Linked DNA regions of Homo sapiens: regions 1, 2, 3, 4 and 6 are each linked to region 5. The links are contacts of gene promoters, found by promoter capture Hi-C in blood cells and fetal thymus (Javierre and others, 2016). All regions are on one chromosome and are shown on one strand. Each heading gives the region's core, a stretch centred on a gene start or on the middle of the fragment in contact. The rest is flanking DNA. Distances are from core to core; before and after follow the strand shown. Region 1 has its middle 50 kb from the start of GTF3C3. Region 2 holds the start of CCDC150 (coiled-coil domain containing 150). Region 3 has its middle 31 kb from the start of PGAP1. Region 4 overlaps GTF3C3 (general transcription factor IIIC subunit 3). Region 5 holds the start of HSPD1 (heat shock protein family D (Hsp60) member 1). Region 6 has its middle 55 kb from the start of PGAP1.

Region 1 (4,353 bases), core at 1,528-4,027, 750 kb after region 5:
GATTCTCTGCCAATTTTTAAAAAATTGGATCATATTTCTTATTGAATCATAGGCATTCTTATTCTAGTATTAAGCCTTTGTCACTTTTCACTTTATTTGTGGTGTCTTTAAGACTCAAGTTTTAGATTTTAGTATCATCAAGTTTATCAATTTTTTTCCCCTTTTATGGCCAACATGAAACTTCAAAATAAAGTTGGATTGTGTTTAGAAAAATAAGGAAGATCTAGGGAAGTCGAGTGGAGTTCTTAGGAGGATCCCAGAAGAAAGCAGACCAGCCCCATCTACATCTGACCAACAAAATAGAGAACAAACAGGACCACTGAAATAGCGGATGTGGAAAGCTAACAGGGAAAGTGGGAGCTGGGGGCGCCTCAGAGGCTAAGAGACAGAGGTGGATTGTGAAGGATTTACAAAGCTCTCTGAGATTACTTCAGGATTAGAAGTACAAAAAGAGTACATGGCCTGTGGGCTTGGCTAAGCTTTATAGCAAGCTTTCGGCTTTCCCTTAAACAAAAATGAACCTAGTCTCCTCAGGAAGCCAGAAGTCTTCTCACTTGGTGTCTGTCCGCTAGGGCTTGTCAAGAACTTACTTCTGTTTACAAAAGCCCTGAAGGCGGAGAAGAGTCAAGAGTGCTGCCATCTGCAGGCCATTTCAGGCAGCTCAAGAGGCAAAAGAAACGATGATTCTTGATTCTGATGGAAGGAGGCAAAGCTGAGACTTTAGAGAATCAGAGGAAACAACATAGGATAGCTCTGTTCAGCTACTCCAATGCCTCGGAGCAGTAGAGGCAGCAGTGATTTTAAAGGTGTGGGAAGAGGTGCTGGCACCTACATTAAAGGCAGTAGAAATCAGAAACTTACAAGCCTCACCTAGGCTGGGAGAGAAATCCTATTTGGGTTTCCTTTGACAGGAATCATTATTATTGGTGGTAGATTCTACCTGCCCCAAGGCACCCTTTTTGGGTGCTGGAAAAGGTACAGAAGTGCTGAGGGGCTGTCAGGAAATGGACTGGTGGCCCAGACTGAGCCAGGTCAACTCTACTCAACATTCAGCTCCATCTCCACTTGGCTCCAAGCCCTAAAGCAACTTCAGGGAAGGAATGTGCTGCCAAGCTCCTTCAGGTGGGTGCAGTTTTGGGACTGAGGTCTCTGCTTTCTTGCTGACTTTCAGTCAGGGGCCACTCTCAGCTGCTAGAGGCCACCTGCATACGTGGCTTCTTCCTCTTCAAGCCAGCAAGGGCACATGAAACCCTTCTTGTGCTTTAAATCTCTTTCTCTTCTTCAAGCATCTGGAGAAAATTGCTGTTAAAGGGATTATGTGATTAGGTCAGGCCCGCCAGGATAATCTCCCTTTCTTAAAATTAACTGTGACATACGATCTAATTACGGGAGTAAAATCCATCACTTTCACAGTCTAGGGATGATGCAGGCATGTTCACCAGTGGGCACAGAATCCTGGGGCCTCTCTTAGAATCCTGCCAACCACACCACTTCCTTGTCACCTTGCTAACTGTATTGGTTTCTCAATGTCTGACAGTCTTTTGCCTTTGTAAATTCTTTTGATCTTTTGGTCTTCTGACCTTGAGGATATTTTGTCTTTGAAATTTAATACTTTTGGCCGGGCGCGGTGGCTCACGCCTGTAATCCCAGCACTTTGGGAGGCCGAGGCGGGTGGATCATGAGGTCAGGAGATCGAGACCATCCTGGCTAACAAGGTGAAACCCCGTCTCTACTAAAAATACAAAAAATTAGCCGGGCGCGGTGGCGGGCGCCTGTAGTCCCAGCTACTCGGGAGGCTGAGGCAGGAGAATGGCGTGAACCCGGGAAGCGGAGCTTGCAGTGAGCCGAGATTGCGCCACTGCAGTCCGCAGTCCGACCTGGGCGACAGAGCGAGACTCCGTCTCAAAAAAAAAAAAAAAAAAAAAAAAAAAAGAAATTTAATACTTTTATTAGAATGTGTCTCAAAGTTGATCATTCAATTTTTCCCAAGTATTAGGTTGGTGCAAAAGTAATTGCAGTTTTTGCCATTATTTTTCTTTTTTTTTTTTTTGAGACGGAGTCCCTCTTTGTCACCCAGGCTGGAGTGCAGTGGCATGATCTCGGCTCACTGCAACCTCCGCCTCCCAGGTTCAAGCAGTTCTCCTGTCTCAGCCTCCTGAGTAGCTGGGACTACAGGTGCCTGCCACCACGCCCGGCTACTTTTTTGTATTTTTAGTAGAGACAGGGTTTCACCATATTGGTTAGGCTGGTCTCAAACTCCCGACCTCAGATGATCCACCCGCCTCGGCCTCCCAAAATGCTGGGATTACAGGCGTGAGCCACCGTGCCAGCCTGCCATTACTTTTAATTGCAAAACTGCAACTACTTTTGCACCCCAACCTAATACTTGTTAAACACTTTAAGTTTATAGATTGATTTTTTTCTTGTATTTTTGAAAGTGCTCTTGGATTATAGTTTTAAAAATAACCTCTGTTAACTTAATTTTCTTCCTCAATAACATAAATATTACAGTTTTCCATTCCATTACTTTTTCTCTAATCTTTTTTATTTCTTCTTTTGTCATTTTCATTTTCTTGGTTGTTTTCCTGGCTTTTTCAATGACTCTTGCTTTTATCTCTGATTTCTGTCCACTTCTGTCCACATCCTGTTTTTGAATTTGTTTCACAATGTTTTTTCATATCCTCAAAGTTTGTCTGAATATATTTGTTTGAAGTGTTCACTTTCAGTTTCTTCTCCTTTGTAATTGTTTATTGGGGAATTTTTTCCTAATTTGATATAAGGGAATTTCATTTCTTGATTTCTGGCAGTAGCTCTGTATGAACTTTCCTCTTGCTCCTGTTTGTGGTATTGGGCTGTTTATCAATATTTCTAGTTTGTCATGTCCTCTTCTGTGAATGTAGCAAAGTCCAGGTGTGTGCAAAGTCCAGGTGTTTTTCCAGGTGAGAGAGAGAGAGAGAGAGAGTGTGTGTGTGTGTGTGTGTGTGTGTGTGTGTGTGTGTGTGTGTGTTGATGATTGTGGGAAGGGTTCTGAGTCCTTTGATTTTATGCTTCTCTTTTTTCTTGCTAAGCCCTCTTTTCCTTTCCTTTTTTTCCTTTCTTTTTAACAATCCAATTGCCAAAAGGGGCTTTCTCCCTTTCTTTTTGCCTTTTCAGAAGCTATGCCCTTTGCCTTTAAACATGCCTGCATCTTTAAATCCTATGTATCCTAAAGTTCCTTCCCTGTAGTTCATGCTGTCATCTGCCTGGACACTTTTTTTTTTTTTTTGAGTATTTCCAGACTTAGGGTCCATTTAGTCTTTGTGGTGGTAGTTTCAGATCAACCTTGGACCCCCGCACTAGCTTCCTTTTTCTGTAGTCCCTACAGTTTTTCTTGCTCTGCCTTTGTTTGCTACTTTGTGGTGAGGTGAGGGTTGCGCAGAAATACTCATATGACAGAGTGTGGAGAGGGGTTTGGTGATTTTTCTCTTTTTACTTGGATATTTTGAAGATTTGGCATTGTCCATCTTCAAATTATGCTGAGGGTGTGTTTTTTATGTAGAACTGACTTTTCCTGTCTTGTTGCATATTGCTGGTGGAGGAAATACTGAGAGGTAGGTAGCTATGCAGCTGCCATTGTCTAGCTACCTGGAGGTTCCTATATTTAGGTTATTAAAGAATCAGTTTTTAAAAACTTCAGGAAGAACTTGACAGCTTGTGGGTATCTTATATAAATGCTCTAAAGAAAAAGGGGTGTCAGTATAAAAGAATAACCCAGCACAAGCTCAGAGCTCTCTGGCTGCAGCATTAATAAAATTCAATAGTGACCACCTTGGTGTATTTTCTCTACTTACAATCTTTTGACTGTTGGACATCTGTGGTTTTGGTCTGACCTAACACCATTTACCCTTTCTTATGAGAACATCACCTTGATTTGCTTTGGGAAACCATCCTCAGTTTCAGAGATGGAACATGGCACCCAGACCCAGCATCAGTGCATAATCCATCTTTCAAGTCACAGTGATTGGTTGACAGTAGGCATATGACCAGTCCAATGAGACTCAATATTATTAGAACTACAAAAAAAAAAAAAAAAAAAAAAAAAGCAAAGCTGTCTTTCTGTTGAGGTTGGTAAACAGAAAATATTCCATAGTCTATTTTAGTCTGCTCTACACTGTACATTGTTTCTGACCATTTATAAAAGGGCTTACAATTAGAAAGTGATTTATAAAGTCTCTATTGTCTAAAGAAGTCCAAGGCAGGGAACACAGGATCACATGGTATAGTGCCAACTTAAGCCCCTTTTGCTCAATGACATGACTGATCACCAGATAAGAGCCAGAATAAATGCTCTTGAGAAGAGCGATGCCAAATGTT
Region 2 (4,305 bases), core at 1,246-3,745, 860 kb after region 5:
TGTTGTGTTTGAAAAGGAGCAAATATTGATTGCTGCCTTGAACCTAAGTCCTAACGCTTGATAGTAACAATAATAAAAATACTGAGATATAAACTTTTATTTTTAAAAAAGTTCATTCATAACTAATTTCTATGCATATATTATTATCAAACTAACAGAATTCTGTCTTGATGTTTAGGGAGAATATTTCCAAAGAGCTTCTAGGCAGGTAACCTTATGGAAAGCATGGCAAGAAAAAGACCAATGTCACAAGTAATATACTAGTAAAAACCAGATGACTTTGAAAAGAGAACACATGCTTCTGTGGACACAGGCTCCATTCCTACACCTGGCAATAGGTGTACACTGGCAAAAGCGTATACAAGTACATGCTGTTGGTTCCAAAATAACAGTCCAGGGAGTCAATGTTGTTTATCACAACCACTAGAAAATAATATGGTAACACTGTCTTCATTCACTCACACATCTAACAAATATTTCCTGAACATTTACCATGAGCCACACACTGTTATAGGCAATGAGGCGGGGGGCAGGGGTTGGGTAGAACAGTACGAACAAAACTCCCTGCCTTCGTGGAGCTTATATTCCAGCTGAAGAAGACAGACACTAAGTAAAATACATAGTTTGTTTATTGGTGATAAGTGCAAAGGAGGAAAATGAAATAGGAAAGAACATGGTATGGAGGCTACAGGGCAGATTTTCATTTTAAACAGGGTGGTCAAAGAAGGCCTCATAACATTTGAGCAAAGACCTGTTATATAGATATCAGAGGGCAGAAAGGCCCAGAAGACGGAAACAGCAAGTGCAAAGGCCTGAAGTTAGAAGGTCTGATGAGTCCGCACATAATAAAGAGGTGGGTTTGGCTGGAGAGGAAGGAGTAACACAGAGAACATTGAGAGATGAGGTCAGACGGTAATAATAAAACCAGAATACGGCTGGGCGCGGTGGCTCACGCCTGTAATCCCAGCACTTTGGAAGGCCGAGGCGGGCAGATCAAGAGGTCAGGAGATCGAGACCATCCTGGCTAACACGGCGAAACCCCGTCTCACTAAAAATACAAAAATAAAAATAAAAAAAAAATTAGCCGGGCGTGGTGGCGTGCTCCTGTAGTTTCAGCTACTCGGATGGCTGAGGCAGGAGAATGGTGTGAACCCAGGAGGCGGAGCTTGCAGTGAGCTGAGACTGCTGCACTCCAGCCTGGGCGACAGAGCGAGACTCCGTTTCAAAAAAACAAAAAACAGAATACACAGAGCCTTGAAGGCCATTGTAGAAGTCTGGCTTTTGCTGTCAGTGATTCTCAGAGTCACTGGAGGTCTATAGCTGAGGAATGCTATCCAACTTTCCTTTTAACTGGATCATTTTGACTCCCTCCCACTCCAAATGGTGGAAGAACAAAAGCAGAAGTAGAGATGCTGCTGGCCAGAACCAAGGTGACAGCAGCGGTATTCCTACTGTAAGAAGTGGTTAGTGGTTAGATATACTTGAAAGATAGCTTTTGCTGATGCATTAGATATGAGATATGAGGGAAAGGAAGAAGCCAAGATTACTACAGGGTTTTTGGCCTGGATGGTGCTATCACTGAGACAATGCAAACTTATTAAGGAAGAATCCGTTTTGTGGAAAAGATAAAGAGTAGTTTTTAAAATGTCAAATTTAAAACATGAAAGATACCAAATACATTATTGAATTTGTGGATCTGAAGTTTGGGGGTGAGGTGTGGACTGGAGACTAATTTCTGAAGAGCTCAAGAAAACCATAAGGCGGGATAACAGAGAACACAAAGGATTAAAGGACCTAGTCCTGAGCACGCCAAGATTAACAAATTAGAAGCATGTGTTGGGGGGCATTTAAGACGGACTAATACGAACTTCTCTAAAGTGGGGTTAAAAATAGACATTTTTCTATCTTTAGAGCCTAATACAGTGCCTGGGAAATTATAGGTGGTAAATAAACAGGAGAATACTTCGACAGGAATTTAACGAATGTCTATTCCGTTCTAGCAAGAGCGCCAGGTACTGCGGAAACCGTAAAGAACAAGTGCAAATTCCTGACACCTATATTCTGGTAAGCAAGCCAGGGAGGATTAACTGGTGGCAAAAATCAAACATTAACGCCGAAATAGCCTTCCCAGGAACCTATTAAACTCCAACTTAACACATAAATAAAGGTGGTATTGGGCTTATCTGGAGGCTTCGGTGGCTATCTCCCATCCCTCAGCTGGAGCCAGGCCAATGCAAACTTCGCTCCTAAATGGCTTTCACCGGCAGCCAACGCCAAAGCGCCTTAAATCAGGGCCCTGAGGTCCAGGGAGTGAGACTGGACTCCGTCAGGACAGGGAGAGGGCGCCAGGGAGTGGTGACTGTCCTTATCTGAGCCGAAGCCTCGCGAGCCTCCGACCACCCCTCACCAGCCCGGGGCCCGGCAGCCTCACCTTACAGTCCATCTGTCCGCCTGAGGCTCCGTACTGCAGCAGGCGAGCGGGTTTCCGTGGAACTAACACAGCATTTTAAACCAACCCGCTCCCCGGCGCAGTAGCTCCGGTACGCAGGCGCACCCGTGGCAGGGCATGTCGGGAACTGTAGTTTTCCCGGCCCAGGAGGGCCCTCAGCCCTGGGCGGGACCCAGGCCGGCATCCGGCGGCGCTCAGGGAATGCGTAGCGCCGTGAACCGAATGGCGGCAGGCTCCACTGTGCTCGCGAGCGGGGCACGCCGGGATATGTAGTTTCCGGCGCCTGCCCTCCGGGGGGTCCTGTGCTGCCCACTTCACAGTGACTTGTCTCCGCCTGGTGAACTCGCGGTGTTCTGCTAATCTTGGTAAATACATACCCTACAGCAGAGTAACGAGCATAAAAATTGGTTAAAAATTCAGAGCTTAAACATTCTTCTCGTTAAAGGAAAAATCAAGTCCCTCTTCGTCCTCGTCCATGATGGCCACATGGAGAGTAAAACACAGAAATCTGTTTTCAGGTCTTTCGTCTCTTCAGCATAAATTATTTCTTGCCCTGTCTACAAGTTAATAGGTATTTGTAAATCTGAGTGTAAGTAGCTATGAAACGGAAAAGAGCATTGAGCTGTCCCTGGTTTTTTTGGTGGTTTGCTTTTTTGAGATAGGGTCTTCCTCTGTCGCCAAGGGTGGATTACGGTGGTGCGATCTCGACTCACTGCAGCCTCGACCTCCCGAGCTCAAGCGATCCTCCCATCTCAGCCTCCCCAGTATCTGGGACCACAGGCGCGCGCCACCACGTCTGGCTAATTTTTGTATTTTTTCGTGGAGGCGGGGTCATCACCATATTGCTCAGGCTGGTCTCTTTGGGCTCGAGCCATCCGCCCACCTCGGCCTCCCAAAGTCCTGGGATTACAGGCGTGCATCACCACACCAGCGTTTCTGAGTTGTTTTGCTTTAAGAATATGTATTCTCACTTAAGGGAAAGCCTTCTATAGTGCAAAGACGCGGCTTTGCGTTTTGGTAGCTGGACAGAACACCTGTTATCCCTGCCAGGGCAATTAAAATGCATTTCTCTCTTCTCCCTGAGAGTGCAGCCAAGAATCACTTCAGCCCTCTCATATAAGCAATCAGATCCGAGATGAGAGCTCATTTACTTAGCCTGACAATTGATCTTGCTATTCTAATTCTTTTCATAGCGGAGCCTCAATGTGAGATGCAGAGACTGCCCATCAAACCACAGCCATATTCATCAAGCTTTGAGCCGATCCGGTGAAGAGAAATGAGCACTGCATACATTATTCAGAGAAAGGGACCAAATAAAGCTTTTAATAGGAAATGAAAATGTATTTTAAAGCGTCAGTGCAAACAGCCAATTATTTTCATTATGTATGTTTTATCTTGCAATGACCTCTGGTTTATCAGTGGAATTAAGAGATGAGTGATACATGTATCCACGTGTTTTTGTGTAATGAGAGTTTTCACCTTCTCCTCAAATCTCCATATTAAGCAGCAGTCAGGGAACCAAACTGATTAAATTCGTGTTTTTCATTTGTTTTCCCTTATTCACTGTCTGGCAAACCGTATAAGAACTTAAGCAATTACAGAGTTAGAGAAAAGGACCTGAAGTCTTCAATAAACTTGAAATCAGGGAGTATAGTCCTCCAACTTTGTCCTTTTTCAAATTTGTTTTGGCTGTTCCTTTAACTTTCTAGTTCCTTTACCTTTCTCCCAAATTTTTTGAATCAACTTGTTGATACCTACAAAAATTCTGCCAGGATTTTGATTGAAATAATGCCAAACATACCGATTTTCTTGCTGATTTCCCTCTTGATTTTCAGTTGATAAATAGTTCTCAGACA
Region 3 (4,742 bases), core at 843-3,342, 540 kb after region 5:
TCTGTGACAACATGATTTCTCAATATTCAAGGGCTGAATCCTTTTCCTGACCACATTTTCTACTTGGCTTGGGATCTTCTAGAGGTTACCCATACCAAGCTCTTTTAAACTTACATAGGAATTAGTTGCTATTTTGAGCCAGCACCACACCAAGCTCTAGACAACTTCAAGCTCCCTATTATTCATATCTACTTCTAAATAATTAAAGCCATGGACAACAATATCTGGCTACATCAGCCAGTGCTTTGCGCAGGCTGAAGAATGGAGAAAGTTCACTGAACTGCTGCTATGCACTTTATTGCCATAGCTCTGGGCAAAACCTTCAAGTGGTTGCATTTTGTATGCAGGATTGCTGGCCAAACTTTTGAATTATGCTACACAATGTCACAGGCCATTTCAGCTGGCGTCCAGACACTCCTAGTATAAAAACAACCACCAGCACCCACTGTACATTTTCTCTCATTGACATTGCTGGGTGCTTTTGTTTGGTAATAGCTTGGGGCAGGGAAGAGGGGTGATGAGGATAATGGAGACGATAACATGACACTGAGGCCATTGGGTGGATTGTGAGCCCCTAGAACTACAGAATATTTTTTTTCATGAACAGGACTTGCTTTGGGGCCCAGATGTCAAAGAGTGACACAGAGTTGGAGAGGGCCATTTTTTCCCACCTCCCTGTGGAATCCAGTATTGTTCTGGCACATGTGATGGGGACTTTGGAGACATTGGGAGACAGTATTCTCAGCACATTCTTGGTCAAGTGTTTCGCAGTGGACTTCCTCAGTGAAGGCAGTGATAAAAATTTCTTCCAGCTGCTTGCCAGGACTTCATGTTGACAGATGAGAACTGGAGCAGACAAGAAAAAATACTAGGGATGCTCCAAGAGGGCCAGGACAGAGATTTCTGTAGGACTCTGTTGTATCCTCTCACATAGTATGCACTCAGTACCTATTAATTAAGTGGGTGGATGATTCTAGTAGTGATTAAAGCTGATAGATTGGTTTGTGAATATGAGGAAAGCATATGTTCAGGGACTCCCAGAAATAACCAGGACCATTTTGAAGAAAAATAGCTACTGTTTAAAGAAAATAAAATTTGAATCCCATTATAATTTATACAATGTGTGACCTAAATTTGTTTCTACAGGTAAAGTGTGTGACCACATTTGTTTCTACAGGTAAAGATAGGTGACAATTGGATTAGAAATATTTTCTAAACCACAATTGGTAAAATAACTTGTAAGAAATCAATGATCTACTTGGCTTTTTTTTTTTTGGCAGGAGTATAAACATCATTTATAAAATTAAGTCATATTCATCGTGGTCTTGACTAGATTTTTCCATAGGATCTATAACTCCATACCTAAATTATCCTGTTTCTAAAAATGTAGTGATAAGTTTGGCTCTGTGTCCACACCCAAATCTCATGTTGAGTTGTAATCCCCAGTGTTACGAGAGGGACTTGGTGGGAAGTGATTGGATCATGGGGGTGGATTTCCCCCATGCTGGTCTCATGATAGTGAGTTCTCACGAGATCTGATGGTTTAAAAGTGTGTGGCACTTCCCCCTTTGCTCCTTCTCTCTCCTGCCACCATGTGAGGAAGATGCTTGCTTCTCCTTTACCTTCCAACATGATTGTAAGTTTCCTGAGGCCTCCTAGTCATGCTTCCTGTTAAGCCTGCAGAACTGTGAGTCAATTAAACCTCTTTTCTTCATAAATTACCCAGTCTCAGGTAGTTCTTTATAGCAGTGTGAGAACAGACTAATACATGCAGTAAATATGCTTAAGGAACAAAAATTCTATGGATACGGTATAATTTACTGAATGTTTTTGTCCTCTAGCTGGATTAGTTGAAACTGAAGCCAAATGTGTGACTACTTAAGGCTGTGAATGCTTAAAGACTTTGAATAGCCATTAGAGTCTGTTCAACTGTAACTAATAAGCTTCCTTCTAGTTCTTAGACTTGGTTTATCACAGAAGTTCCTGTTTGCATTTTAAAATTCATTTCTAGGTAAGGTCTTGGCTAAGGAGAAGAAGGAAGGAAAGGAAGGTAGATTCTGTTTGGATTTTAAGGTCAGGCAGTCAGTTTGGCAGCTGGGCTTATATAACCTTTAACTTCTCCTAATTAGAAATTTTCAAAGTACCTGGCTCTCCCCAGGATGCCAATTTGCTAGAGAATCTGCTTGCAGCCTCCATGTAATCAATTTGAATCTTTAACCAACAAAAATAACAAAAGCTTCAGCTCCATGAAACAAGCTATTCTCCATTGTTTGACTCATTGTGAGGCTGGGGTTAACCTCACAATTTTAAACTCATTCATCTTAATGTACACCCTATTCAATTACCCCCATGTCCTACAAATAGGTCAAACTTTCATAAACCTTCAGAGAGAAGCCAGTCATAGAGGAGAAGTGTTTTCCTCTCACTGGTGTTTGAAAGTAACTCTTTTAACATCATTTCCAGATAAAGGTTTTAAAAATACGGCCAGGCAGGGTGGCTCAGGCCTGTAATCCCAGGGCTTTGGGAGGCCAAGGCGAGAGGATTGTTCAAGGCAAGGAATTTGACACCAGCCTGGGCTGGTCTCTACAAAAAAATTAAACAATTAGCCAGCATGGTGGCGCACGCCTGTAGTCCTAGCTACTTGGCAGGCTGAGGCAGGAAGATCACTTAAGTCCAGGAGTTTGAGGTTACAGTGAGCTGTGATCACTCCAGCCCGGGTAACAATGAGACTCTGTCTCTAAATACATATATATAGAGTCTCTAAATATATATATATTTTTTATATATAAATATATTGATTGACCTCTCATGTCTTTATATATAAATATATATTATATAATATATAAAGACATGAGAGGTCAATCAATATATATATTTATATATAAATATATATATATATTTAGAGACAAATATGTGTAAGATGTACATTGGTTCACTCCAGAAAGGTAGGAGAGATCACAGGTAGATAAGAGACAATGGGTTGCATTTATATATATATACAAAGTTTGTTATTCTTTTACTATGTGAGAATGACAATTAAGTTGTTAAAATTAACAATCCATTGAATATCGGTTGTGATAAAGAAATCAAGTATCTTTTTAACAAGAAAGTGAAAAGCAAAGGGAAATTTCAGCTTGTATTAAAAAACTTAAGAGCTCAGTTTATTTCAATATAGAATTTCAGGATAATGTGCTAGAGTGTGAATGTACCCATGATTCTATAACTTTCCATGCTTGTCTTCATCTTTTGTAACTTTATCCCCTTCCATAGTTCCAATTACTATTTATAGCCTTTCTAAAGCTGAGTTCAGTAGCTTTCCTTCCAACTTCTTTCTTTACTTTAAAAAAAAAAAAAAAAAGTGGTCAGGTGAGGTGGCTCACACCTTTAATCCCAACACTTTGGGAGGCCGAGGCAGGTGGATCACCTGAGGTCAGGAGTACAAGAGCAGCCTGTCCAACATGGTGAAACCCCATCTCTACTAAAAATACAAAAATTAGCTGGGCATGGTGGCACATACCTGTAATCCCAGCTACTCAGGAGGCTGAGGCAGGAGAATCGCTTGAACCCAGGAGGCAGAGGTTGCAGGGAGCCGAGATCGCGCCATTGTACTACAGCCTGGGCGACAGAGCAAAACTCTGTCTCAAACAGCTTTAATAAGGCACAATTCACGTAACATTACTATTCACATACCATACCGTTCACCTTTGTTTTAAAGTTTACAATTCAGTGGTTTTTAGTATATTCACAGGACTGGCAACTATCACCACAATCTAATTTTAGAACATTTTCACCACTCCTGTGAACCCAGAAAGTATCTGAGACAGGTCTCAATCAATTTAGAAAGTTTATTTTGCCAGGTTTAAGGACGTGCCCATGATAAAGCCTCTGGAGGTCCTGATGATGACACTGCCGTTGGAAAATTATGACTGAGACAGTGAAAGACACCTAACCGGGGAGACTGATTTGAGTAATAATAAAGCTCCGATCCCCTGCACAGCTGGCTCTGCATGAATTACCCTTTCTCTATTGCAATTCCCCTGTCTTGATAAATCGGCTCTGGCCAGGCAGCAGGCAAGGTGAACCCACTGGGCAGTTACAATGACATGTGCCCAAGGGGGTCAGGGCACAGCTTGGTTTTATACACGTTAGGGAGATATAAGAGATCAATCAATATGTGTAAGATGTACATTGGTTCACTCCAGAAAGGCAGGAGGGATCAGAGGTAAATAAGAGACAAAGAGTTGCATTCTTTTGAGTCTCTGATTAGCCTTTCACTGAATACACAATTTACACGTGAGAGGTGGGTAGAAGAATAGTCACTTATGCCTTAGTCTGGCTCAGTGATTTGTACATAAACAATAAGGCAGAGGAAGCAATCAGATATGCATTTGTCTCAGGTGAGCAGGGGAATGACTGTGACATCAGTCCTTTATCCAGCACCTGTGAAGATTAGCTACCAATTTACGTTGCCAAGGTAAAATACAGCATAACTGTTTTAGGGTAAAAATCTTGAGTCTCACAAGGAATTTTCTTGTGGGCAAAGTGTGAGGGAGGTATGTATTATGTTGGTGCAAAAGTAATTGTGGTTTTTGCCATTTAAACATAGGAAAAACCACAACTGCTTTCGCACCAACCTAATAGCTTTTTTATCTTTGTAGCTATCTAATTTAGGAATAAAACAGGAGCAGGTTTGCCTGATGCAGTCTCAGCTTGACTTTTCCCTTTGGCTGAGTGATTTATTT
Region 4 (4,744 bases), core at 2,245-4,744, 730 kb after region 5:
TCCTGCCTCAGTTTCTTGATCTCTAAAATGGAGATAATAATTGGACCTACTTTGTAGATAATTGTGAAAATTAAATGAATCAATATAAAGAACTTAAAACAGTGCCTGGCACATATAGTAAGTGGATATAATAGCAAAAATGATAATTACTAATATTAATATTTGTTATTCTTACTAAGCTTTGGTTGTAAAAGGCTGACACAGGTCTTATAAAATTCATTTTAACGGTCAACAATTCTCCCTGCTTAGGCCTATTTATTTTTAAAATGATTTTCATTAATTATGGATGCTTTTGCCACCTGATTTTAATTTGCCATAATGCAAAACATTCAAGATTTGCTGAAAGTTCATTCCTTCAGGAGCTAAATCTATATTAAGATTTATTTATGTGGTGGTTACTAATTCTAATTAAACTCAAGGAAACTTCATTAATCATTTATAATAAGGAATTTCTGTAATAAGGAATCAGAAGTAAACAAGTATTACTTGCAGAGTCTCCTTTTAAAAAAAAATTAAAGAAGAAGCAAACAAGTAGAAAAACATCTAACTAACTAAATGTTTAAACTTAAAATTAGGCATGCATGTCTTACTACCTAAAAGGTGGTGTTGCCAGATTTACTTCTTATGAGTAAACTATGGTTTTTGGCTATTTGATACGTTCATGATTCCTTGTATATGGCCCGTATTTTTATCATCGTTCATCCAGTAACCTCAAACATCAGATGTTGAAACATTCCTCTTTTGTGTGTGCTTTGTGGAATTGTTTTATATTAAGAAAATAAAAATATTTTATTTTCCTATATTAGAAACTTTTACAAAAGGTTAAAATGATAGACAAATGGCAGTCTACCATCTTTGCTGCCTAAGAGATTCTGTGGTGCCATTCCTTCCAAAATAGAAGCCAGAAGGAAGAGAAATTTTCATCTATATGTGATACATTATATGTTATTCCTTTATGAGAAAAACTTGCTTAAATACCCCTACTGCATATGATTAGGCTTTTGACAAGAGATGATTGTATATATGGAATACATGTAATTCATAAAACTCCAAATTCTTATTCTGTTATTGGATACATTTAGCTTTCTCAGAAAAAACAAATAATTGCTACATTTGGGAAAACAACACCTGTAGTCTAAAAAACAAAACAAAGCTTTCCTCTTCTCACCTCCATGATCCACCACATTTGAATTTATAAAACAGATCAGTTGATTCTATAAAAATGTTCACCAAAACACACCTCCTCCATTCTTTTCAAACTAGATTTAAGGTCATAAAATAGATTTAATGATTGCAGCTGATAAATTGTTTATTTTGGAAGTATTACTTTACATGGAAATGTCTAGCTGTGCCTAGAAAAAGTTAATTTAGTTCCTCATATGAATCTTCATGGTCAGCATACATTCATGGGGAACTTGTTTTATTTTATACATTGTTTTAAAATTCAAATTAATAGGTCTCTGGTTGCTATTTAAGATAGAATGTCCACCTTATGTATGTTAAAATCAGTAATGTTTGGCCTTAAAAGTGTTGAAGAAATAAATAACTCTGTTCTTGTCACACCGTCTGACACCACTGCTTATTTTCCAGGACAGTATGTGCAAGCCTTTCGCACTCACCCTGACGAACCTCTCTATAGCTTCTGTATAGGCCTAACCTTTATTCATATGGCATCTCAGAAGTATGTGTTACGGAGACATGCTCTTATTGTACAGGTAATTCATTCAAATTTCTCGTTACTTGATTTTATGTTTCTTAAAAATGAATATACTTAATACTTTTTTTAAAAATCCTGCTTCAAAAGTAATACACAATGCTCTCAGTACACATGACGGGGGTCCCCAACACTTACCCCAGTGTTCAGCACTCAGCATATAATTATACTCATGATTAAGACTTATTACAGCGATATAGTAAAGGTACACAGCCAGATCTTTAGGGACAAAGACACAGGCAGAATCTGGAGGAATGCACTGGCAGGCTTCCTTATAGTCTGGTCCTCAAGGTCTCTAACCATCTGAGGTACTGAAGATTCACTTAAAGTAGTTGAAAAAAAAAATTATACAATAATATGATTGTGCCTGTTTCCTTACACCATCACCAACAAACTGTCCTTTTAAAATTTTCTTTGTGGTTCTTATAATAATTTGAAATTATGTTTCTTGTTGTCTACCTTAATGGCTTGTCTCTTCTAATAAAAGTATAAAGTCCAGCAGATCAGAAATATTGTTCACTACTTTGCCTTCAGCATTTTCATTTCTGTGACTTCATTTTTGTATGTTTGATGTTTCCAAAATATGATATGGTATAGACATGTCTTTTATTAAGTAGTAGGTGAGAAAAGAAAGAAAATGTTGACTTGAATGGAGTTGCAGGGTCTAGTAAGGGGCTTTTTGTTTCTTTTAAAGTAAAATGGTTAAAATAAAGCCTGCATTAAAATGGTGATAACAGTTGAAACTAGGTATGAGTTCATTAAGGTGGTCTCTTTACTGTTGTATATTTGAAAATTTCTATAATAAGTTTTTTAAAAATCCTGAAAAACAAAAACTTCTAAATTTTTCCTTTTTTATATTCTTATCTACCTTTTCCTCAAAGCTTCTTTTTCTTCCTTAATGGATACTATTTGCTGTACTAAGTAATGTAGGATTGTGTATAAATTAAACGTAGTGCTCATTGTGTGCCAGGAATCGGGGACGTAGCAGTGAGTAAGTACACAGATGGAATTTCTTGCCCTCATAAAATTCTGGTAAAAATTGATAGGAAAATTTTATGGATTAACTCATTAAATATGTAAAATATGTAGTTTTTGGGCTTGGTAGGACAAAAATTCATGTACTTCAAAGTAATATGGAAGCTAAATTTCAAATTACTTTTATAGTTAAATAGGAGGTTTCAAGTGGTTGGAGGTAGAGATGAAACAAGAGGTAATGAGAATATGGAAGTTCATTGGACTAATCTCTTTTGTGTATGTTAAACATTTTCCATAAAAAAAGTTTCTGAGAAGCAGGTTTTATTGTAAATAGCATCATTTCTGAAACTTTTAATTTCTCTTATTTTTCTTTCTTCTTGCTACAAGACTATAGTTTTCTATTATACTACCTAAAAAAATTTTTTTTATGGTTTATTATCTTTCTTACCTTTATATTGTATTAAAAGTAAAATCGTCAATGTTTCATTACTTCTACTTTTATTTAATATTGTATAGACAGTGAGTACATTGGGCCCTTTAGTGATTAATTTGATTTAAATGTTTGAAATGTAACATAATGTCAAAAGAACTCTTTTCTTTTCAATTTAAACTGTGTGTTTTTGGCGAGGCACAGTGGCTTACACCTGTAATCCCTGCACTTTGGGTGGCCGAGGCGGGTGGATCACTTGAGGTGTCAGGAGTTTGAGACCAGCCTGGCCAATATGGTGAAACATGGTCTTAATAAAAATACAAAAATGAGCCAGGTGTGGTGGCGTGTGCCTGTAATCCCAGCTACTCGGGAGGCTGAGGCAGGAGAGTCGCTTGAACCCAGGAGGTGGAGGTTGCAATGAGCTGAGATCACACCACTGCACTCCTGTGTGATAGAGCAAGACTCCATTTGGGAGAACAGAACAGAATAGAACAATAGAATTTGTTTTGCAGTTTTTAAATTTGATAATTCACAGTACCTACAAAGTGGCTACCCACATTGGCTAGTTTTTAAATCACTAAATATTATTTGAATAGTCTTTCAGGTTATCCTCTTAAATTTGTTAAACATTTCTTAAAGGGCAGCAAGTTATTCCATTATTGTATTAGGGGACCTACAGGTTCATTTGCATTACAACAATTCATCTGAGATTACTATTCCTTTTTCCTCATATTTTTATCTTTAAATTTGTCATTTTTAACTATGAATACTTGATATTTCTTTGCAGTCGAATAGTCTGCTGGTACTTAAGAGAGCTGTGTCTTTCAGTGGAATAGAGGTCATAGTCACACAAATAGGTTATTTTATTATGCAGAAAGTATGATTTGTATACTGAACACGAGTATTACTACCCCTAAAATGCATTCATTTAAAATAATTCATTTTTATTATTTACCTATTTATAAAGGAAAATTTGTGACCACTTATTATATAGCAGATCATCTAGAGAATAATTACATTTTATATTCTATATTCATAAATTGATTTATTCTTAATTATCTGGTAATATATTTGATTACTTAATTAGGACTCAGACCTTTGCAATTTGTAATTTCAGTGAATGATAAAAGCTGAAGCTCTATTAAAAGGGAAAGTGAATATGGGAAGAGGTAAAGAAACAAGTTGCTTTTTGGACTGTGTGACCCACAGGGAGCCAGCGTCATTGTAGCTGTGCTCTGAAATAGTTTCTCCATAGTCTTTGAGTCAGAAGCTTTCAGGAGAAAAAAATCCAGTTTTTTTGGGTTAAGAGGTTATCAAGGTCCTGAGAAGTAACTTATAAAAGGTAAAATTTACCCTAAAAGGTTAAGTATACTCAAGTGAATTTGCTCCTGAGAGGAAACCTTTGTACATTATCATTATTTTATATCTTGCTCAATCTTTTAGGCGTCAATCTCACATCAAAAAGTTTATTGGCCTATAACGGCACAAGCCAACTTCAAATTATTTTTTAAAAGTTTTGTGTATTTGTAGATTATGAATCTCTGGTAACTACTTGTAACATTTGGCTCTGTTTTCTGTGAATATTTATCCCTAGCTAAAAAAAATTCTTACATCTTCAGAAGAGC
Region 5 (4,648 bases), core at 1-2,500:
TAAACGCTTGTCCTGCCTGTAGGAAGAGAAATGTTTTGAAACAAAAACTAAATGTAATCACATTATCAACAGGCAACGCCACCGTGCTATACATCTCAACACGTTTTGGCTTTGAAAGTTAACACCAAACCTCAGCTTATTCGTTAAGGAAGCGCATTTGAATGTACTAACCAATATTCCAAGTTTAATTCCCGATTCCTTACGTCTGTTAGGGGTCGTTGTCGCTCCTCCGGTGAGCAACCAGACCAGCTTTAAGGTCAACCTTAGTTTATTCCAAGGTCAAATGTTTTCCTTCTTCAGGTTTTTCCAGAAATTTTCAGGAAACGCTGGGTCAAGCTCCCTGCCTGGCACCATGATTTTTACCCAAGATATTACACATCCACAAAGGCCCTGCAGAAGCAGGTGAGACGCTGCGCGTGCGCCCGGGTTCTCGCCCCCCTGCCTTACACACCGGCAGCACACGCGCGTGCAAAGAGCCCTGGGGGAGAAAAGGGTCGGGCGGGCCTTGCCGCTCCAAGGTGCCATCGGGCGCTGGTCACTGAGTGGCCACCAATCCCTCCCGCCCAGCCCAACAAAAGAGGGGCGTCAGGGATCCCCGTACGCCTCAGACAGGCCCGGGCCTGCAGGCCTCGGGGCCACGCGGGACTCACCATTACTCCCTCCGCCTCAGACTCGTACTCTGCTCTAGTGTAGCGCCGCAAAGAGACTCGCAGTCCGGCCCTGGCGACACGTGAAAAAATCACCCAGCGCGCAGGCGCGCTCGCCCCAGCGGTCGCCGCTAGCCCCCTCGCCCCTCCCAGGGAGGGAGGGCGGTCGCCCCGACGCGCACCGCGATTCGCCCCAAGGGCCCTGCGCAGGACGCTGACGCGAAGACTCGGAGGCGGAAGAAAAAAGGAGCTGTTTCTAGGCTTTTCTAGGCGCCCAGCCGAGGTGAAAGAACTACCCCTTCGTCCCCTCCCGGAAATGACGCGATTTGACCCTTGAGCCGTAGGGAGCGCGGCATTTTCTGGAAAGTTCTGGAACCGAGCGAGGCCCGGGAACTAGACTAAGCCGGCCGGAGAGGGCTGAGCGCGCTAGCACACCCTGCGCGGGTAGGGAGGGGCGGGGCTCGCGCGCAGGGTGTGCAGATTGCAGGGCCCGGGCTGACGGGAAGTGGGTGGGAGCTGCCTGCACACGCGGTGCCGCGGGGCGGGAGTAGAGGCGGAGGGAGGGGACACGGGCTCATTGCGGTGTGCGCCCTGCACTCTGTCCCTCACTCGCCGCCGACGACCTGTCTCGCCGAGCGCACGCCTTGCCGCCGCCCCGCAGGTACGCGGCCTTCCCGCACCACCTCCCCCCGGCTCCTGCGACCCCCGAGTGGGCCTTCCTCCTCTGCGGTCCAGCTGGAGGGTGCGGGCGGCGACAACCTGGAGTTCCGCACCGCGCCGCACCGCAGGCCCAGGCCTGCGGGTCCAGGCCTCGCGGGTCCATGCGGGTTCCATCACGTGCGACGCGGATCCTGGACCTCGGCTGGGCGCGGGAGGGACAACTCGTGGGGTTTGAATTTGGGGGATTGTAACCACTTAGGCCCGCTGGTGCAACCTGCGCCTGGCCGACTTCAGGGAACCGGGGAGGGTGGTGTACGTGAGGGAACCGCTTTTTTCCCCCGCAGGCAGCTGGGATACCGCGCCTCCAGTCTTGACCTTGCTGGGGGCGTTCGGAAAGAAGGACACGTGGGCTCGCGCCGAGTGGGCCGGGCCGCCGCCCCCAGCATCGCGGCCTTGCTGGTTGCTCTGATACAGTAGCCTTGGGTGGATCCATGGAGACACTTTGCTGAGCGGCTTTTTGCACCGTCAGGAATACTTTTAACTTCCCTGGTCACTTGGATTTGTAACTTGCCTCTCTCCGGCTGACTTGGTTTCTCAGGGGCCACAGTTGGAGTGGGTCTGCCCACAAGGCCGTTTTCGCGGTGAAAGATTAACTCGTTTTTGGCGGCAGGGATAGGTGGCCGTGGGGAAGGAGCCGCATGTGCTTTGTGCTGGTGCTATAGGTCAGGCGCCGGCCGGGGCGGCCTCTTTAGCTTGCGCTAGTGGCTGATGTTCCGAAGCTGCGGCGCCTTCCGTCATTCAGGCGTAGTGGCTGGCGGAGGTCAGCCAGGCTCAGCATCTCACGTTGCTTGCTCTGTTGCACAGGTGGGCATGTTTGTTCTGCAGCGCACCACGGGTGGTAGTTCTGATGATCTTTTTGCTTCCATCCCCAGAAATGCTTCGGTTACCCACAGTCTTTCGCCAGATGAGACCGGTGTCCAGGGTACTGGCTCCTCATCTCACTCGGGCTTATGCCAAAGATGTAAAATTTGGTGCAGATGCCCGAGCCTTAATGCTTCAAGGTGTAGACCTTTTAGCCGATGCTGTGGCCGTTACAATGGGGCCAAAGGTACCAGTATTTTTATTTTATTGTAATTACGGTATTATTAATAGCATTTTACTCACAAATAGTCGCACTGAACTATTCAACAGTACTTTCATCTCCATTTTTGAGAGAACTCAGTTTACATGTAAGAATTCTGAAGTATTGGTTAGCCTTTTTTTCTTAGACATGATCTTAAAGCTTAAACTGCTTCAGCCAGATTTTCGAAACTATTTTGTTCAATGTGTGATGTAATCAGGTAGTAACTTACAGCTCAAGGTGGATTCTTAAACTCGAGGTAGAATTTCGCTGGCTTAAGTTAAAATTTGGATCCTTTCCCAGTAGTTCATGCCAAGTGTAGAGAGAAGAGTTTAACTTATCTTCCATAATTCCTTAGGTATGTGCTTGTAGATGCTAAATTTTTTTTTGGTTTATTGTAGTAAAATGTACACAACATAAAATTACCATTAAGTGTGCACTTTGGGGACATCAATTACATTTATGTTGTGCAGTCATCACCACCATCCATCTCCAAAACTTTTTATATGGAAAAATTGTAACTTTGTACTCATTAGACAGTAGCTTCCCATTCTCTCCTCCACCCCAAGATGCTAGTTTTACCCATCGGTTTTCTGCTGTTCTCTTGTTCCAAAGCATATTTAAAATAAGTCTCATTTAATAGGGGTAATGTTTTGAGGAGGCCTTTGAAGGTGGTGTGCAGTCAAGTGGTGCTTCATTTCAGTTTGAAGACAGTTCAGATATCAAGTGATCCAACAACTGCCTAAAATACAACATTTGCACACCTCACAAATAGAAAGTAGCAGCTTTAGTTCAAATCCAAAGGATGGCCAATAATTGTGCCATGGTTGAAGTTTTATGTTGCGTGAACCTGGAAGAGCACGCTACTTGCCTTGATGGTTAATATTTTAGTTAAACGGATTTTAAAACAAGTCACATTACTTTAAAAGATAACAGGCACTAACTAAAGTATAAGTGATAGGAAGATTGTTTTATTCTTTGTCTTGTGTTCTTGTTCATTTTATAAGATGACAAGTTTTAGTCCCTAGGATTTTAATCTCCTAAATTACCTAGTTCAAAATTATGCTCTTGGCAGAGAATCAGGTCATTTTGTCTGTAGACAAAGAATGTCGATAAACTTGCCCTTGAGGTTCATGCTGCAAGACTGATAAAAATGACACAACTTACGTTGAGACTTTGAAGTAGTTGCTTTATTATGAAGACTGCTCATTTTTAAAAATGTAAATCATCCTTAGGGTATGTCTGATCCTGTTACATTTTTTTCTTCTAGGGAAGAACAGTGATTATTGAGCAGAGTTGGGGAAGTCCCAAAGTAACAAAAGATGGTGTGACTGTTGCAAAGTCAATTGACTTAAAAGATAAATACAAAAACATTGGAGCTAAACTTGTTCAAGATGTTGCCAATAACACAAATGAAGAAGCTGGGGATGGCACTACCACTGCTACTGTACTGGCACGCTCTATAGCCAAGGAAGGCTTCGAGAAGATTAGCAAAGGTGCTAATCCAGTGGAAATCAGGAGAGGTAGGAATGTCTGTTGTCACCACAGTGTTCTAAACTTCAGTGTGCTTTAAGGCATTGATTCCTTGGACCTAAGGAAAGTGTTAACTTGAGGAAATTAATCCTTCTCTCATTCCTCCTCTTGGCCTGGAGAAATCTTAAACTGGGTTTTCCTTTAGCAAGCTTGGCTGTATGGTGGGTAGGTACTGTTAGGTAATTTTGATATTTTACTTAGTTGGTTTCTTTTGTTTTTAGAGACAGGGTCTTGCTCTGTAGCCCAGGCTGGACTGCACTGGAACTCCTGGGCTCAAGCAATCCTCCTGCCTCAGCCTCCAAGTAGCTGGGACTACTACAGGCACTCACCACCATTCCTGGCTAATTTTTAGTTTAGTTTTGTAGAAAGTAAGACTAAATACACTGGATCATTCAGAATGTCAGAAAGTAATGTTTTCCTCAGTTTATTTTTTCTTAATAGCACACACCATGTTATTGGTTTGTGTTTTGTTAGTGCTTGTAACTAGAGTGCAACTTAATTAACAATTTGCTCCTCCTCATGAGGTTCATGGCAGTATAGACTTAAATTCTAGTCCCATGTTTGTCATTTATTAGCTGTGTGCTAAGACTTGGTTTTCCTATCAGCAGAATTGCTATGTATATCTAGGGTATGTTAGGGTTCAAACCAGGAACCCTCTTGTAAGTGAAGGTGGGGGGAGCTATTGGTA
Region 6 (4,609 bases), core at 278-2,777, 520 kb after region 5:
ATACTATTTTCTGCTTTTAAATGTCAATTTAATGAAGTACTGTGTATTACATTCTGGAAGAATTTTATAATTTTCAAAAGTAAAAATACTGAAGCAGTACTTTTAGAGCACAAAAAGCTTACCTGTGTTTGCATTGAGTTGAAAGTACCCAGCAAATTCGTGAACTTTATTTATATTTTTTATAGTTGGGGTTCCTAAGAATTACTAACATTTAAACTCAGATCCTAACCACAAGAAATTACCAGCTATGCAAAGATCAGAGGAGAGAACATTCTAGGGAGAGGAAAAGGCTAGTGCCAATACCCAAAGGCAGGAATGAGTTTGTTATGTTCTAGGAACAGAAATGGGGCCAGTGTGGCTGGAGACTCAAGGGAAAGGGAGGGTGGCAGAAGATTAACAGCGATCTCAGCCCAGACATAAAATTTTGTGAGCTGGGAGGAGTTTCTATATTTTTCTGAATGTGACAAAAGCCACTGGAGAAATGTAAGCAGAAAAATGGCTGTGGTCTGATTTTTTTTTTCTGTCATTTTTATTTTTTATTTTTTATTTTTATTTTAAGTTCTGGGGTACATGTGCAGAACATACAGAATTGTTACATAGGTATACATGTGCCATGGTGGTATGCTGCACCTATCAACCCGTCATCTAGGTTTTAGGCCCCGCATGCATTAGGTATTTGTCCTAATGCTCTCCCTCCCCTTACCCCAACCCACCAACAGGCCCTGGTGTGTGATATACCCCTCCCTGTGTCCATGTGTTCCCATTGTTCAACTCCCACTTATGAGTGAGAACATGTGGTGTTTGATTTTCTGTTCCTGTGTTAGTTTGCTGAGAATGATGGCTTCTAGCTTCATCCATGTCCCTGTAAATGACATGAACTCATTCTTTTTTATGGCTGCATAGTATTCTATGGTGTATATGTGCCACATTTTCTTTATCCAGTGATTTCATTTTTAAAAGATCACTCTGGCTGCTGTTGAGAGACAAGAGAGAGAAACCCTAGTGACCAATTAGGTAGCCACTGCAATAGCCTAGACAAGTAAATATAGTGGCTTGGATTGTCTGGCAACAAGGGAAATGAAGAGACTGTGACACATTTTGGATATGTCTTGAAGGTAGAGTTGACTGAATTTGCTGATGGCTTGAGTCAAGTAAACAGTAGAGTTTGGGGAAGAAGCCAGGGCTGGGATCATATGAAATTGTAGACATGTGAAAGTTGATTTGGAGTCATTCCTGTCCTACCCAATGAAAATGGAGTCAAGGAGCCTTTGTTGGGAAAGAGCACTCTGGTCACAAACGTCTTCCAAAAACTGTCTCGCAAGTTTACTCCAAGGAAACAGCCTGCTATGACTTCAAGGCGAACTTTACCTAGCAGTTGCTGCCACCTGCCAATCAGAGCTCACCAGCGCCCACTCTGCTATCGCCAATTAACTTTCTTTGAAAACAACTTACATCTTCTTTCTCCTTTCCCAATAAAACTCCAGCCCTTTCCTTTGTTCTTTGGACACACTGGAAACTGCCCTGGTCTCTGTGTGCATGTCCTTATTGCAAGCCTACTTTCTGTATATTACTCTCAAATAAAATCCTCTTGCTTAGAGATTTGTCTCTGCATATATATATATATATATATAATTTTTTTTAGTATTGACAAATGAGAAGAGATTCCCTCAGGAATAAATGATAGAAGAGCCCTGAACTGTGCACACTCCAGCATTTAGAGGTTAGGAAGGGGAGGAGGAGGATCTAGCAGCGAAGACAAGACATAATGGTCAGAGGCAGGAGGAAAACCAAGAGACCAAGATGTCCCTGAAACCTGGGAAATAAAGGGTCATAGAAGAAGGAGTGTCAGTGATTTCTATTGTCTCAATTGCTTCTGGGAAGTCAAATGCAGAGAAGTTGACCAATGGATTTGGCAAGATAGAGTTCATTTATGTATTTATTTTATTATTATTATTATTTTGAGATGGAGTTTCACTCTTGTTGCCCAGGCTGGAGTACAATGGTGCGATCTCAGCTCACTGCAACCTCCACCTCCAGGGTCAAGCGATTCTCCTGCCTCAGCCTCTCAAGTAGCTGGGACTACAGGCACACACCACCACACTTGGCGGATTTTTAAAAAAATTTTTAGTAGAGATGGGGTTTTGCCATGTTAGCCAGGCTGGTCTCGAACTCCCAACCTCAGGTGATCCACCTGCCTCAGCCTCCCACACTGCTGGGATTATAGGTGTGGGCCACCACGCCCAGCCTGGAGAGAACATTTTAGAGTAACAGAGGAGGGTTACTGAGTAGGATTTAGTACACTCAAGATTTATAATCATAAATCTAAAATGATACCAGTCATCCTGGTGGATTTTTTCATCAGATGTTTGGGTGTAGGCATAGAGTAAGAAGACAGTGGAATTTAACCTGGTATAGAGCTTTGCTAGGTAAGTCCAAAGGGAGAGAGGGTTATGGAACTGTGGTGCTTTTAATGGATGTGATTATGTAGATCATGGATTCTAAACTGGGTAAGGAAGAAAGTGAAAACATGAGGGAGGTGATGGATACTGAAAAAGTGGTAGTCAATGGGGGTCAGGATAAGACAGAATTATTGAATTGTAGCCCCAGAGTTGGTGATCTTGATGTGGAGTGCCCAAAGTAAAGATTTCACAGGTGGTATAGTTTTGAGGATGACAAAGCAAAGGATATAACCATGGGAGTGGGTGGTTGAGAATGACTGAAGAAAAAAAAGCATTGGATGTGAAGAAGTAAAAATCTGAGGAGGCCAACATGACAAATAGGAAAAGCTATTTATCATAGAATTGAAGCAAAATAAATGAGAACATTTAACTACTTCAAAACATCTATTATTCAGGTATTTTACTTTAAGTAGATGGATACTAAGAGCTGATTTACTGTCAGGCTGAAATTCGGTTCCAGGATTAGGATGAAGCTTTTAACAAAGTAAAAATGGTCAAGTGCATTTCTATTAAAAAACTAACCAAACCTTGGCTATGACAGAATGACAGGTTTTATGACCATATGGTTTAACCTAAATGTGTTTATGAGGCTCTCCAGAAAACATGACAGATGGCAAAGAGCTGCAGAATGAACAAAAGGAGAGTGTGGTTCAGACAACGTCTTAGTGATAACAATGAAAAATTGAATACTTCCCAGCGGGCCTTCTGCAGAGGACAAAAGACTGAAATTATTGGAATTCTATATTGCTGTTTAGGTGAAAATTAAATTTGCTTTAAAACATTAACTTTTCCTGAAAAATCTCAATTTTAAACTAAATAAATAGAAAGCTAACGGGTTTCTAATTCCCTTTTGAATTTCTTTTTTTCAGAAATGATTTATCCATTCCATGTTTTATTTCACATTCTTCTTCAGGCCTGAAATTTACTCCTTACTGTTTTATTATTACTTAAAACTTGTAAAAAATTTTGTTAGGAGAATGTTACCTGGTAATTTATTGATTTTCTGCTTAACTTCATTCACAAGGGTCTACCCATTAGCATGTAAATTTTGATTAGGCTGCTGAGCCCATTTCCTTTTGGCATCAGTGCTAAAAATGATGATAAAGGGCTCGGTTGGTGCCATCTGGGTGCTTGCATTGTGATGTTACAGCTAACACTAGAAATTAGATTGAGAAAACCAATTAATTTACTGCAATGTCATTCAGATATTGAAAAAGAAAAGCCTTTCAGAGTGCTAACAATAGTTCCTAGAGATAAGAACATATTTTCTAGTGTATATTAATGATCATTTTCCTTGCCGCCAGCCTGGTGATCTGAGAGTGTCCTGGATGGTGTGGAGCAGGGGACAGTGTTGCTAAGATGCTGGTTGTGACAAAAACCTTTAAAAACCTTTAAACTGCAAATAAAAATCACCTTATTGGCCGGGCACGGTGGCTCATGCCTGTAATCCCAGCACTTTGGGAGGCCTAGGTGGGCAGATCACCTGAGGTTGGGAGTTCGAGACCAGCCTGACCAACATGGAGAAACCCTGTCTCTACTAAAAATACAAAATTAGCCGGGTGTGGTGGCACATGCCTGTAATCCCAGCTACTCGGGAGGCTGAGGCAGGAGAATCACTTGAATTGGGAGGCAGAGTTTGTGGTGAGCCGAGATTGCATCACTGCACTCCAGCCTGGGCAACAAGAGCCAAACTCTGTCTTAAAAAAAAAAAAAAAAAAAAAAAAAAGTCATCTTATTAAATTACTCAGGCTGCTTTTTAATTGGGGTGAATAGTAAAAATAGCTGATGCTCACTGAGTGCTTACAATGTGCCAAGCACTGTTCTGAGTGCTTTACATCCTTAAAACAACCCTAGAAAGTAGATGCTATTCATTCTTTTTTTTTTTTTTTTTTTTTTTTGAGACGGAGTCTCGCTCTGTCGCCTAGGCTGGAGTGCAGTGGCGCGATCTTGGCTCACTGCAAGCTCCGCCTCCCGGGTTCACGCCATTCTCCTGCCTCAGCCTCCCGAGTAGCTGGGACTACAGGTGGCTAATTTTTTAAAATATTTTTAGTAGAGACGGGGTTTCACCGTGTTAGCCAGGATGGTCTCAATCTCCTGACCTCGTGATCCGCCCGCCTCGGCCTCCCAAAGTGCTGGGATTACAGGCGTGA

Evidence for each region. Contacts are between HindIII fragments. The CHiCAGO score rates a contact against its expected background, and 5 or more counts as called.
Region 1: a contact is called between a fragment that was not itself captured here and the fragment with the promoter of HSPD1 in region 5, in 1 of 17 cell types (monocytes). The highest score is 5.0, in monocytes.
Region 2: a contact is called between the fragment with the promoter of CCDC150 here and the fragment with the promoter of HSPD1 in region 5, in 3 of 17 cell types (monocytes, total CD8 T cells and non-activated CD4 T cells). The highest score is 8.1, in monocytes.
Region 3: a fragment that was not itself captured here is called in contact with the fragment with the promoter of HSPD1 in region 5 in 1 of 17 cell types (naive B cells); the score reaches 5.3 in naive B cells.
Region 4: a contact is called between a fragment that was not itself captured here and the fragment with the promoter of HSPD1 in region 5, in 1 of 17 cell types (monocytes). The highest score is 5.5, in monocytes.
Region 6: a contact is called between a fragment that was not itself captured here and the fragment with the promoter of HSPD1 in region 5, in 4 of 17 cell types (total B cells, monocytes, total CD8 T cells and 1 more). The highest score is 6.8, in total B cells.

Annotation. Positions count from the first base shown.
Region 1 is chr2:196,747,488-196,751,840 of GRCh38, reverse strand. No RefSeq gene overlaps it. Among named protein-coding and RNA genes, the nearest start is that of GTF3C3, 50 kb to the left of the region's middle. The HindIII fragment of the contact is 4,567 bases long and covers 494-4,353 here.
Region 2 is chr2:196,637,905-196,642,209 of GRCh38, reverse strand. CCDC150 (coiled-coil domain containing 150) reads right to left here and starts at 2,495. Exons shown (of 28, transcript NM_001080539.2): 1 at 2,432-2,495. The coding sequence starts at 2,443. It overlaps LOC105373823 (a long non-coding RNA gene), which reads left to right and starts at 2,525. Exons shown (of 2, transcript XR_923747.3): 1 at 2,525-2,814; 2 at 3,643-3,782. RefSeq lists enhancers at 1,634-2,171, 2,172-2,709, 2,694-2,743, 2,764-2,983. The HindIII fragment of the contact is 4,677 bases long and covers 1-3,702 here.
Region 3 is chr2:196,955,472-196,960,213 of GRCh38, reverse strand. No RefSeq gene overlaps it. Among named protein-coding and RNA genes, the nearest start is that of PGAP1, 31 kb to the right of the region's middle. The HindIII fragment of the contact is 293 bases long and covers 1,946-2,238 here.
Region 4 is chr2:196,766,886-196,771,629 of GRCh38, reverse strand. It overlaps GTF3C3 (general transcription factor IIIC subunit 3), which reads left to right. Exons shown (of 18, transcript NM_012086.5): 16 at 1,591-1,715. Among named protein-coding and RNA genes, the nearest start is that of GTF3C3, 30 kb to the left of the region's middle. The HindIII fragment of the contact is 1,794 bases long and covers 2,598-4,391 here.
Region 5 is chr2:197,496,442-197,501,089 of GRCh38, reverse strand. HSPD1 (heat shock protein family D (Hsp60) member 1) reads left to right here and starts at 1,250. Exons shown (of 12, transcript NM_002156.5): 1 at 1,250-1,308; 2 at 2,240-2,415; 3 at 3,698-3,950. The coding sequence starts at 2,242. HSPE1-MOB4 (HSPE1-MOB4 readthrough) reads right to left here and starts at 711. Exons shown (of 9, transcript NM_001202485.2): 1 at 651-711; 2 at 1-16. The coding sequence starts at 653. It overlaps HSPE1 (heat shock protein family E (Hsp10) member 1), which reads right to left and starts at 711. Exons shown (of 4, transcript NM_002157.3): 1 at 651-711; 2 at 1-16. The coding sequence starts at 653. RefSeq lists an enhancer at 591-650 and silencers at 791-850, 1,041-1,370. The HindIII fragment of the contact is 3,758 bases long and covers 1-2,591 here.
Region 6 is chr2:196,979,131-196,983,739 of GRCh38, reverse strand. It overlaps a transcript of ANKRD44 not described here. Among named protein-coding and RNA genes, the nearest start is that of PGAP1, 55 kb to the right of the region's middle. The HindIII fragment of the contact is 2,815 bases long and covers 120-2,934 here.